Regions from separate parts of the Homo sapiens genome. Here region 2 is linked to region 1. The links are contacts of gene promoters, found by promoter capture Hi-C in blood cells and fetal thymus (Javierre and others, 2016). All regions are on one chromosome and are shown on one strand. Each heading gives the region's core, a stretch centred on a gene start or on the middle of the fragment in contact. The rest is flanking DNA. Distances are from core to core; before and after follow the strand shown.

What was found. Contacts are between HindIII fragments. The CHiCAGO score rates a contact against its expected background, and 5 or more counts as called.
Region 2: a fragment that was not itself captured here is called in contact with the fragment with the promoter of SKA3 in region 1 in 1 of 17 cell types (M2 macrophages); the score reaches 5.1 in M2 macrophages.

Annotation. Positions count from the first base shown.
Region 1 is chr13:21,175,076-21,180,779 of GRCh38, reverse strand. SKA3 (spindle and kinetochore associated complex subunit 3) reads left to right here and starts at 4,228. Exons shown (of 9, transcript NM_145061.6): 1 at 4,228-4,405. The coding sequence starts at 4,303. It overlaps MRPL57 (mitochondrial ribosomal protein L57), which reads right to left and starts at 4,122. Exons shown (of 2, transcript NM_024026.5): 1 at 4,063-4,122; 2 at 1,696-3,868. The coding sequence starts at 3,863. The coding sequence ends at 3,555. RefSeq lists enhancers at 3,653-3,972, 3,988-4,710, 5,433-5,704. The HindIII fragment of the contact is 19,534 bases long and covers 1-5,704 here.
Region 2 is chr13:20,964,411-20,970,278 of GRCh38, reverse strand. It overlaps LOC124903269 (small nucleolar RNA U13), which reads right to left and starts at 961; the gene lies at 863-961. The HindIII fragment of the contact is 540 bases long and covers 1,460-1,999 here.

The sequences.
Region 1 (5,704 bases), core at 2,979-5,478:
GGCATGGTGGCTCATGCCTGTAATCCCAGCACTTTGGGAGGCCAAGGCAGGCGGATGGCTTGAGCCCAGGAATTGGGGACCAGCCTGGGCAACATGGCGAAAACTTGTCTCTACAAAAAAATACAAAAATCAATTGAGCATGGAGGTTGAGGTTGCAGTGAGGCAAGATGGCACCACTGCAATCCAGCCTGAGCAACAGAGCAAGACCCTGTCTCAAAAAAAAAAAAAAAAAAAGTGAATCATCTAACAAAACACAGTAATTTTTGTTAATGAGGAAAAACATTTAATGCTGGCAAATAAGACTCCCACTCTCATACATTAGTCTTGAAATTTTGCACTACCTTTCTGGAAAGCCATTTGTTATCAGAATATTTAAATGTTACAGTTACAGCTTTCGGCTCTAAATTCTATTTATCTATCTCAATACATTTTTGATTCATTTCATTTTAGAGATAGGGTCTCACTATGTTGCCCAGGCTGGTCTCACACTCTTGGCATCAAGCAATCCTCCTACCTCAGCCTCCCGAAGTGCTGGGGTTTCAGGCTGAGCCACCATACACAGCAAAAAAAAAAATTGAGACATTGTTCTGTTCCCCAGCCAGGAATGTAGTGGCACAATCATAGCTCACTGCAGCCTCAAGCTCCTGGGCTCAATATCTCAATATATTTTCAAAAAGCGTATGTATAAGGAGACTAAAAGAAAAAAAAATGAAGATTATCTCGTTAATGGGAAATAGTGAATAATGGGATTGAATTTTTTTTTCTATATATTTAACAGTCAACAAGATTTCTTTTTTGGCGGGGGTTAATCCATCGCTGCAAGCATTTATCCTTTCTTTGTGTTACAAACAATCCAATTGTAGTATTTTAGCTATTTTTTTCTTGAGACAGGGTCTTACTCTGTGGCCCAGGCTGGAGTGTCGTGGCACAACCACAGCTCACTGCAGCCTCAACCTCCCCAGCTCAAGCCATCCTTCTGCCTCAGTCTCCCAAGCAGCTAGGACTACAGGTGCACACCATGGGCCTGGCCAATTTTTTGATTTTTTGTAGAGTTCTCACTATGTTGCCCAAGCTGGTCTCCAATTCTTAGGCTTCCCAAAGTGTTGGGATTGCAAACGTTAGCCAGTGTGCCAGGCCATCTTTCAGCTATTTATTTTTATTTTTTTGAGATGGAGTCTTGCTCTGTCACCAGGCTGGAGTGCAGTGGCACAATCTCAGCTCACTGCAATCTCCAACTCCCTGGTTCAAGTGATTCTCCTCCTGCCTCAGCCTCCCGAGTAGCTGGAATTAAAGGCATGTGCCACCATGCCCAGCTAGTTTTTCTATTTTTTAGTAGAGATGGGGTTTCACCATATTGGCCAGGATGGTCCCGATCTCCCGACCTCGTGATCCGCCTGCCTAGACCTCCCAAAGTGCTGGGATTACAGGCGTGAGCCACCACACCCGGCCTCAGCTATTTTTAAATGTTCAATAAATTATTGTTGACCGTACTCACCCAAGATTTCTGTATTATACAGCAATTCAATCTCAAGTCCATCTCATCACTGGCTGTAACTGTGGACAGTTCCTTAAATGTTTCCTCAAATATAAAATAGTTCCAACCGTATAGAGTGCTGTATACTGTGTCACCAAATGCATATTGTATAGGGTACTGTATTACACTACTATATACAGTATGTATTTAGAAACACAAAGTTTTTGACTATTTTTATTATATTCTGAAAGCGAACATCTTCAACTGGTAAATTACATGGTATATTAAATTATTTTCAAAAAAGATATTTTTATTTATATTATTATATGTATTTTTTGAGATGGTGTCTCACTCCCGTCATGCAGGCTGGAGAGCAGTGGCACGATCTCAGCTCACTGCAACCTCCACCACCTGGGTTCAAGCAATTCTCCTTCCTCAGCCTTCCCAGTAGCTAGGATTACAGGCATGCATGACCAAGCCTGGCTAAATTTTTTTTGCTGATTTTTATATTTTTAGTAGAGATGGGGTTTCACCATATTGGCCAGGCTGGTCTCGAACTCCTGACCTTGTGATCCGCCCACCTTGGCCTCCCAAAGTGCTGGGATTACAGGCGTAAGCCACCACGCCCGGCTAATTTTTGTATTTTTAGTAGAGATGGGGTTTCGCCATGTTGGCCAGGCTGGTCTGGAACTCCTGATCTCAGGTGATCCTTCTGCCTAAGCCTCCCAAAGTGATGGGATTACAGAAGTGAGCCACCGTGTGGGCCTCAGCCATACAACTTTGACAAAGTTCTTTGTGTGTCTTCCCAGTCAATAGTGGTTTCTCCTTTATTCCTGTTCCCACAGACGCAATTCTGATTTTTTTCCCCACCTAAATTTTCTTTTTCTGTCGCCCAGGCTAGAGTGCAGTGACACAATCTCGACTTACTGCAGCCTCCACCTCCTGGGTGCAAGCGATTCTCCTGCCTCAGCCTCCTGAGTAGCTGGGATTACAGGCCTCACCACTGCACCCGGCTAATTTTATGTATTTTCAGTGGAGACAGGGTTTCACCATGTTGGTTGGGCTGGTCTTGAACTCCTGGCCTCAAGTGATCTGCCCGCCTCAGCCTCCCAAAGTGCTGGGATTACAGGCGTGAGCCATCCCGCCTGGCCATATATTATTGTTATTTTAGATAGGGTCTCGCTATGTTGCCCAAGCTGGACTCAAGCAATATTCCTGAATAGCTGGGACTACATGCAAGCACCACAGCACCCTGCCAAAATAGCTAAAAAATACACCTTCCTGTAACAGCTCTGATAAATATCTTTTACTTCGTTTATTTTTCTTTTTTGAGATGCAGTCTCCCAGGCTGGAGTGCAGCGGCATGCTCTCGGCTCACTGCAACCTCCGCTTCATTGCAACCTCTGCCTCTGAGGTTCAGGCGATCCTCCCACCTCAGCGTCCCAAGTAGCTGGGATTGCAAGCCTGCACCAACATACCCAGCTAATTTTTTTTGTATTAGTAGAGACGGGTTTTATCACCTTGGCCAAGCTGGTCTTGAACTCCTGACCTCAAGTGATCCGCCCGCCTTGGACTCCTAAAGTGTTGGGATTACAGGCGTGAGCCACCGCACCCGGCCTCTTTTACTTCGCTTAAATGTCCAATTTTAGTAGTAAAATCCCGGAAAATGTTTTTAGGAGTATGTTTAACTGAAAAGCTCATATTTTCTTTCATTTTTGGGCAATTCTTAAGGTAAGCAAACTAATGTTGCATGATAAAGCCCCCATCAAGTATCTCATACTTAAGCAAAGACCTCAAATCATTGTGGCTTTATTGCAGCTTTCCTTCAAAATATCATCTGTGACTGAGGAAATCCCTATCTTCCTATCAGACTAATGAAACCACAGGACAGCAATTAGACTTTTAAGTATTGGGGGTTTAGAGCTCTAGATATTCGATATGCAGACTACTCATGTTTGTTTGTTTTAATAAAGACTGGTCCAAAGGCTCATTTTCACACAAGCTACAGTTTTTCAGTTCCAGGACCAGGTAAAGATGGTCAGCTCCGTGATCCATAAAATCCAAGGGTGACGACTCAGGATTAGGACCATTTCTTGGTGACATTGAGATGGTCGAGCTGGTCCGCAATGAATCTATGCGGGGGGAACTTGGAAGTGGCGGCCGCCTTTATGGCCTCGAAGGCCTCCCTCCTGCGCACCGCGGCGTGGCCGCGCTCCTGCTCCCGGGTCATGTAGGGCATGCTCAGCCAGTAATGGTTCTCCGCCTCGATCTCCAGGCGGCGGATCATGTTCTGCTTGGCGCGCAACGACACGAACCGCGGCCGCCGGTGCTTCCCGATCCACTGACGGCCGGGAATGCGGCCGCGCCAGAGGAGCGCAGTCAGGAACATGGTGCCTGCGGAAGAGAGGGACGGGCTTTGCGGAGGCGAACTGGCGCGGCCGGACCTGGAGAGAGCAGCGGGCGCGCGCTCCAGCTCACGCCTACGGGAGTTCCCGCACCGCCTCCCCTCCAGAGAAGCGGGGAGCCCAGGTAAGGCCAGCAGGCGAAGAAGGAGCTCCCTAGAGAACCGAATTCGCACAGCTACTCACCTGCCGCGCTGCTCAAGACTCTGCGTCTCCGCGGCCGCCAGCAGACGCCGTGGCGTAAGCGCACCCGTCTCGCGGGGTCTCCTGGGGCCTCGGCGAGAGACTTCGGCTCTCGCGAGAGAGGACTGCGCCTGCGCAGAGCCGAGGACGCGTCCGGCGCCGAGATTCAAACTAGTGGCGGGAGGCTGTGAGCTGAGCGGTGGGGTCTGCGTACGCCTGGAGTCCTTCCCCGCTGTGCTCAGCATGGACCCTATCCGGAGCTTCTGCGGGAAGCTGCGGTCTCTGGCCAGCACGCTGGACTGCGAGACGGCCCGGCTGCAGCGAGCGCTGGACGGAGAGGAAAGCGGTGCGTGAGGCGGGCGGCCAGGGCACGGTGCGTGGGGTGCGCCGCGGGCGGAGGGGCGTGGCGAGTGGACGGTATGTCCCACGGGAACCGCCAGGCACTGACGGCGTGGACGGCTGCCACCGAGGCGCAGGGCGGGTGCTGCGCGTCTCACTGCTCGGCGTTTGGCGTTAGCGTAGCTCCCGGGCCTGTTTATGGTTTATTCCTAGGAACCCTTGTCGCGTGTCCGTTTTAGACCCATGTACAACCCCACGGCTCTCTTGAGATAATGAAAGTAGCACTATTACGTTATAAACAGAGACAGCAGCACTTAAGAATAAGAACCTAAATTAACAGATTGAGCTCATAATACATATACTAATTTATACGTGATATGCTTTCGTCACATACAATATGTGTGCTTGTCAGTAAAATACCATGTAAACCTAAACAGTTTCTCTTAGAATCAAGCTATTTAACGTTCTTTACACAATACTTTACACATATAGTGACTTTTTTCTCACTCACGTGGTCCACAGTTGCAGTAAACCTCTGTGTTTTTCCCGCTAAACCATGTTGCCAACACAAACACTAGTACTCAACAGTGCTGGGGTTTAAAAAAATATGTGTATATAAATAAAGCAAAATTCACCATTCCCCTTTTTATTAGAGATTTTTTAAATTGTTGAAAAAGTAGTTCAGATTTTGGAATTATTTCATAAATGTCATAATTGTAATGTGCTTTAAAATATTACACCCTGCAGACTACTTTTACTTTAATTATATAATGAATGATCTCCAGTCACTTGAAAATGTCTATTTCTGCCCGGCGCGGTGGCTCACGCCTGTAATCCTAGCACTTTGGGAGGCTGAGGCGGGCGGATCACAAGGTCAGGAGATCGAGACCATTCTGGCTAACACGGTGAAACCCCGTCTCTACTAAAAATACAAAAAATTAGCCGGGCGTGGTGGCGGGCGCCGGTAGTCCCAGCTACTCGGGAGGCTGAGGTAGGAGAATGGCGTGAACCCGGGAGGCGGAACTTGCAGTGAGCCGAGATCCGCCACTGCACTCCAGCCTCGGCGACAGAGCAAGAGTCCGTCTCAAAAAGAAAAAAAGATTTGGCCGTGCACGGTGGCACACGCCTGTAATCCCAGCATTTTGGGAGGCCGAGGTGGGTGGATCGCCCGAGGTCAGGAGTTCAAGACCAGCCTGGCCAACGTGGTGAAACCTCGTCTCTACTAAAAATACAAAACAATTAGCTGGGCATAGTAGTGGGCGCCTGTAATCCCAGCTACTCGGAGGCTGAGGTGGGAGAATCGCTT
Region 2 (5,868 bases), core at 480-2,979, 210 kb after region 1:
GCCAGGCGTGTTGGCTCACACCTGTAATCCCAGCATTTTGGGAGGCCAAGGCAGGTGGATCGCCTAAGGTCAGGAGTTCAAGACCAGACTGGCCAATATGGTGAAACCCAGTCTCTACTAAAATACAAAAATTAGCTGGGTGTGGTGGCACACACCTGTAGTCTCAGCTACTTGGGAGGCTGAGGCAGGAGAATTGCTTGAACCCTGGAGGCAGAGGTTGCAGTGAGCTGAAATCGTGCCATTGCACTCCAGCCTGGGCTACAGAGTGAGACTTCGTCTAAAAAAAAAAAAATTAGCATAATAAAAAAATCTTCGATATTAAGTCAATATTCGTAAGTAGTACTCTGCTGGTTTTTTTTTTTTTTTTTTTTTTTTTTTTTGAGAGGTTCTTGCTCTGTCACCCAGGCTGCAATGCAGTAGCATGAACATGGCTCAGTGCAGCCTTGACCTCTTGGACTCAAGTGATCCTCCTACCTCAGCCTCTCAAGTAGCTGGGTAGCTGGGACTACAGGTGTGCACCGCCATATATATATATATATATATATATATATATATATATATATATATATATATATATATATTTTTTTTTTTTTTTTTTTTTTTGTAGATACAGGGACTCCCTATGTTGCCCAGGCTGGTCTTGAACTCCTGGGCTCAAGTGATCCTTATGCTGATATTATTAATCCTGTTAAATCTTTTTCCATCAGTAAAAAAAGCTTTTCCTTTGTAAGAGAATTTTCCATTTCCAGCAGAAGCCTACACTGAATGGACAAAATGAGCTTATTCACCTTAGAAAAGAAAAATCTTATTGGACACTGGGATGAAGTGCATATGGGTCATTGTGAGTTTTTTCCTAAGTTCACATCAGATGAGTCATGTGCCAATGTAACAAAGTTTGAGGGAGGCACCTCCCATATGAGTGTGAAAACCCAATGGTCATGCTTAAAAGGTACAAAATGATTGGAGGCTATTGTCACAGAGTGAAAACCACTCGAATGGTTTTCTTTTTCAGTGTTGTTCTTTTTCAGTTCACATCAGACACATAATTTTTTTGTTTTGACTATCAAACATTTAAGAAAACTCAAGAGAAGGAAGGTCTGTCATATTAACTGATATTTTTGCTTACCATGTTCTTTCTTTTCTTCCTGATGTGCTAAGGCTTTTTCTTTTTATCTTTTTCTTTCTTTTTAGAGAACCTCCTTTAGCCGTTCTTTTAAGGGAGGTCTATTGGTGACATTCTCTTAGGTTTCCTTCACCTGAAAATGTCTTCATGTCCCCTCCCTTCCTGAAGGGTATTTCCACTGGCTACAGGATTCTAGATTGATAGTTTTCTTTCAGCACTTGAAAAATGCTGTGCCACTTCCTCCTGCTCTCCGTGGTTTCTCAAGAGAATCTGTAGTCATTCTAATGATTTTCCCCTATGGATAGATAAGGTGTTTTCTCTGGCTGCTTTCAAGCTTTTCTCTTTGCATACTTTTCAGAAGTTGAATTAGGAGATTCTTGGCTTAGATTTATTTGGGTTTTTACTGTTTGTGGTTCACTCAGCTTCTTGAATCTGTAGGTTTATTTTTATGGCCAAATTTGGGATTTGGGGAGTTTTCAGGCATTATTTCCAGAGCTTTTTCATTCACACCTCTCCTTTCGAACTCTACTTCTATGACTCTACTGATACAAATACTAGATCTTTTGTTATAATTCTTACGCTTCGGCTCTCCCACCTCCACATTCCCCTCCATTTTTCTCTGTAAAAATGGATACATCTGTTTACATTGGATAATTTCTATTGTTCTAGCTTCCAGTTCACTAATTCTTTCCTTGGACCCTTTTATTCTTCTCTTGAACCCATTCACTGAGCTTTTCATTTCAGTTACTGTATCTTTTAGTTTTTTAGTTTAGTTTAGTTTTTTTTTTTTGAGATGGAGTTTCCCTCTTGTTGCCCAGGCTGGAATGCAAGGCGCAATCCCAGCTCACCGCAACCTCCACCTCCTGGGTTCAAGCTTTTCTCCTGTCTCAGCCTCCCAAGTAGCTGGGACTACAGGCACATGCCACCACACTGGCTAATTTTTTTTATTTTTAGTAGAGTTGGGGTTTCATCGTGTTGGATCAGGCTGGTCTCGAACTCCTGACCTCAGGTGATCCGCCCACCTCAGCCTCCAAAGTGCTGGGATTACAGGCATGAGCCACCATGCCCAGCAATCTTTTAGTTCTAAAGTTTCCATTTTTGGAGCCGATCGTGGTGGCTCATGCCAGTAATCCCAGTACTTTGGGAGGCTGAGGCGGGCAGATTACTTGAGGTCAAGAATTCGAGATCAGCCTGGCCAACATGATGAAACTCCATCTCTACCAAAAATACAAAACATTTGCCAGGCGTGGTGGTGCGCACCTGTAATCCCAGTTACTTGGGAGGCTGAGGCACAAGAATTGCTTGACCCAGGAGGCAGAGGTTGCAGTGAGCCAAGATGGCATCACTGCACTACAGCCTACGCGATAGAGTAAGCCTTAAAAAAAAAAAAAAAAACAAGAAGAAGCCAGAATACAGGAGTTGGGGTAGGTGGGAGGAAAAGCAGTTTTAACTGGAGAGCCAGCAAACAAAGAAGATGGCAATAGCATTCTAAAGTACCGGCTTAAATTTTAAAATTTACCACGGGGTTTTCAAAGGGAAACTTGGTATGGGAAACATGCGGGAATGGTGCAGGGTGCAGGGTCCTGTGTGTCTTGTTCTGGTGGCTATCTTGGGTAATCACCTGTCCAAAGGTATGATTGGCGTTATCTTGACTTCAGCCTGGTGATGGTGGACTAATTGTCATGACTCCCCCTAAACGGGAGGATTCTGCAGTGGGGGCTTCATGCCTGGTTTGTTTGAGATTAGCCTCTGGGATTTCTTAAGCAAGAATGTAATTAGATAAACATTCATTGCCAGAGGGGAGTGTAGAGAGGGAAGGAATGAAGGGATGAGAGGGGAAGGAAGGAAGACAAAGAAAGTGAGTGATTAAAATATATTTTTAAAACTGAGGTACTTGGTTACGGGGGATCGCTTGAGCCCAGGAGTTCAAGGCTGCAATGAGCTATGATTGCACCACTGTACTCCAGACTGGGCAACAGAGTGAGACCCTTTCTCAAAAATGAGACCCTTTCTCAAAAAAAAAAAAAAAAGTAAAATTTCCATTTATTCCTTCTTCTAGTTTCTGTTTCTTTGCTGGCACTTTTTATCTTTTGTATCAGGAGTGTTTGTAATTGCTCATTAAAGTCTTTCTGTTATGGCTGACTTTAAATTTTAGATAATTCTAACATCTCTATCATCTCAGTGTTGGCTTCTATTGGGTTTTTTTTTTTAACTTAGTTTTGAGATCTTCCTAGTTCTTGGTGTGATGGATGATTCTTGATGGAAACCTGTATATTTTTGATCTTTTGTTGTAGCTGACTTTTGTTGACATTGCTTTGGCAGGGAAAGTGGACATGCTGCCTCATTATTCCCTAGGAAGGTAAAGTCCCCACTCAGCCTCTTTGGATGTTCAGGGTCAGGGGAGGCTGCTTGTTAATGCTGAGCCAGGGTAGGAGTGCCTGCTTTCCATGCTGTGTTCACCCCATGGGGTGGCCTCATTGCCAGTGGGCAATGGTCAGTGAAGTCCTGACTCTCCTAGGCCCCCTCTGCTGCTGCCCTAGCAGTGAGTGGGAGGGGCATCTCATAGCTACCGGGTAGACTAGAAGTCCAGGCTCCCCACAGGGCAGGAAAGATATCACCAGCCAATGGGGAGGAAAATCCCAGCTCCCTACCAGGAGTTCTCTGACATCACTTAGGCAGGAACATCGGGGTGCTTCATTGTAGCCTTACAAGGATGGAATCCTACTCCTCACTCAGTCATTGCTGGCACAGGTTGGGTGGAGCCACAGTTTTCTCTGTGGTGATTGCCTGGAGTACAGTAGTAATTGTCCAAGAGCTGCCTGGCTACTCTACCTCTTTCCTCGTCCTTTGGCTAGAGAAAGTCCTTCATGGGGACATTTTTGTCTGCTTGTTGCTATCTCTGATTTTCCAGTTTCTCTATTCGAAGTCTGGGATATTGAGGTAAAAAGAAATTACACGGTGGAGAGTGTTCTAGAAGGAAAACTCTCCACCATGTACTTCCTTAGCTACTGAGGTTCCTAAATGGTCTGCCTTCTCTCCACCTTTCAGTGAGAGGTTTGTCTTATATGTAATATCCAGGAGTTTTAGTTGTACTTAGCAAGAGAAATAAGGAGCAGTACACGCACTCCATTTTCCTGGAAGTGGAAGTGGGTCTCAATTTCAATTTCAATGGCAATTATTAATAATTAAAATTCAAAATTCAGGCCAGGCATGGTGGCTCACACCTGTAATTCCAGCACTGTGGGAGACCAAGGTGGGTGGATCACTTGTGGTCAGGAGTTTGAGACCAGCCTGGTCAACATGGTGAAACCCCATCTCTACTAAAAATACAAAAATTAGCCAGGTATGGTGACGCATGCCTGTGATCCCAGCTACTCAGGAGGCAGAGGTAGCAGAATCGCTTGAACCCAGGGGGCAGAGGTTGCAGTGAGCTGAGATCACCCTCCAGCCTGGGCAACGAGCCAGACTCCATCTCAAAATAAATAAATAAATAAAATAAAGGCCAGGCATGGTGGCTTACGCCTGTAATCCCAGCATTTTGGGAGGCCAAGGCAGGTGGATCACAAGGTCAGGAGTTAGAGACCTGCCTGGCCAACATGGTGAAACCCCGTCTCTACTAAAAAATACAACAATTAGCCAGGCGTGGTGGCACTCCAGCCTGTAGTCCCAGCTACTTGGGAGGCTGAGGCAGGAGAATTGCTGGAACGCGGGAGGCAAAGGTTGCAGTGAGCCGAGATCGTGCCACTGCACTCCAGCCTGGGTGACCAAGTGAGACTCTGTCTTGAAAAAATTAATTAATTAATTAATTTAATTTAATTCAAAATTCAATTCTTCAGTCACACCAGCCACATTTTACATGCTCAGTGGCTACATGTGGTAATGGCTACCATATGGGATAGCACAGGTATGGGAGGGTAATTGTCAAGTTTTGCATGAATCCTTGCACTGACAAACATCTTGCTGAATTCTGGGACTCATGTAAGTAGTCTTCATCTCTCCCTTATGTGTCATGTTACGCTTGGGCAATGGAGAGAACACTGCATTCCTTAGGGATCAGAGTCGGCAATACCTAGGATGTGTCAAGCACTGCTGGCTCAGCAGCCTCACTGCTGTAGTCCTTTCCTGCCTCACTGCTCTGACTCTATGGTACCTACTAGAACCACCTGTTTCTGATTGTCTCTTTAGGCTGGTGACTAACGCCTCCAAAAAGATTGTCTCAGTCTGTTTCACACTGCTATAACAAAATACCACAGACGGGTCAGTTATAATGAACAGAAACTTGTTTTCTTATAGTTCTGGAGGTTGAGAAGTCCAAGATCAAGGTGCCAGCATCTTGTGAGGGCTTTGTTGCTGCATCCTCCCATGGTGGAAGGCAGAAGGGCAAAGGGGCCAAAGGAGACTGAACTTGCCCTTTCATAAAAGCATTAATCTCACCCATGAGAAAGGTGCCTTCATGGCCTAATCACCTCCCAAAGGTCCCACCTCCTAAAACTGTTACCATGGCAGTTACATTTCAACGTAAGTTTTGGAGGGAATGAACATTCAAACAAGAGTCATGACTGCTTATAGATTTAACAAGAATAGCAGATAGTGGTATGCCTGCCAAAATGCCTCCTCTCTATTAAGACAGCAGCACTCAATCAAGGCACACATTCTGGCTGAACCCAGATTCAGCCTCAAAATCTAACTCAGCACATCAAGCAGTTCTTCTCAATTGATCAAGCTGAGCATTTGAGATAAAACCT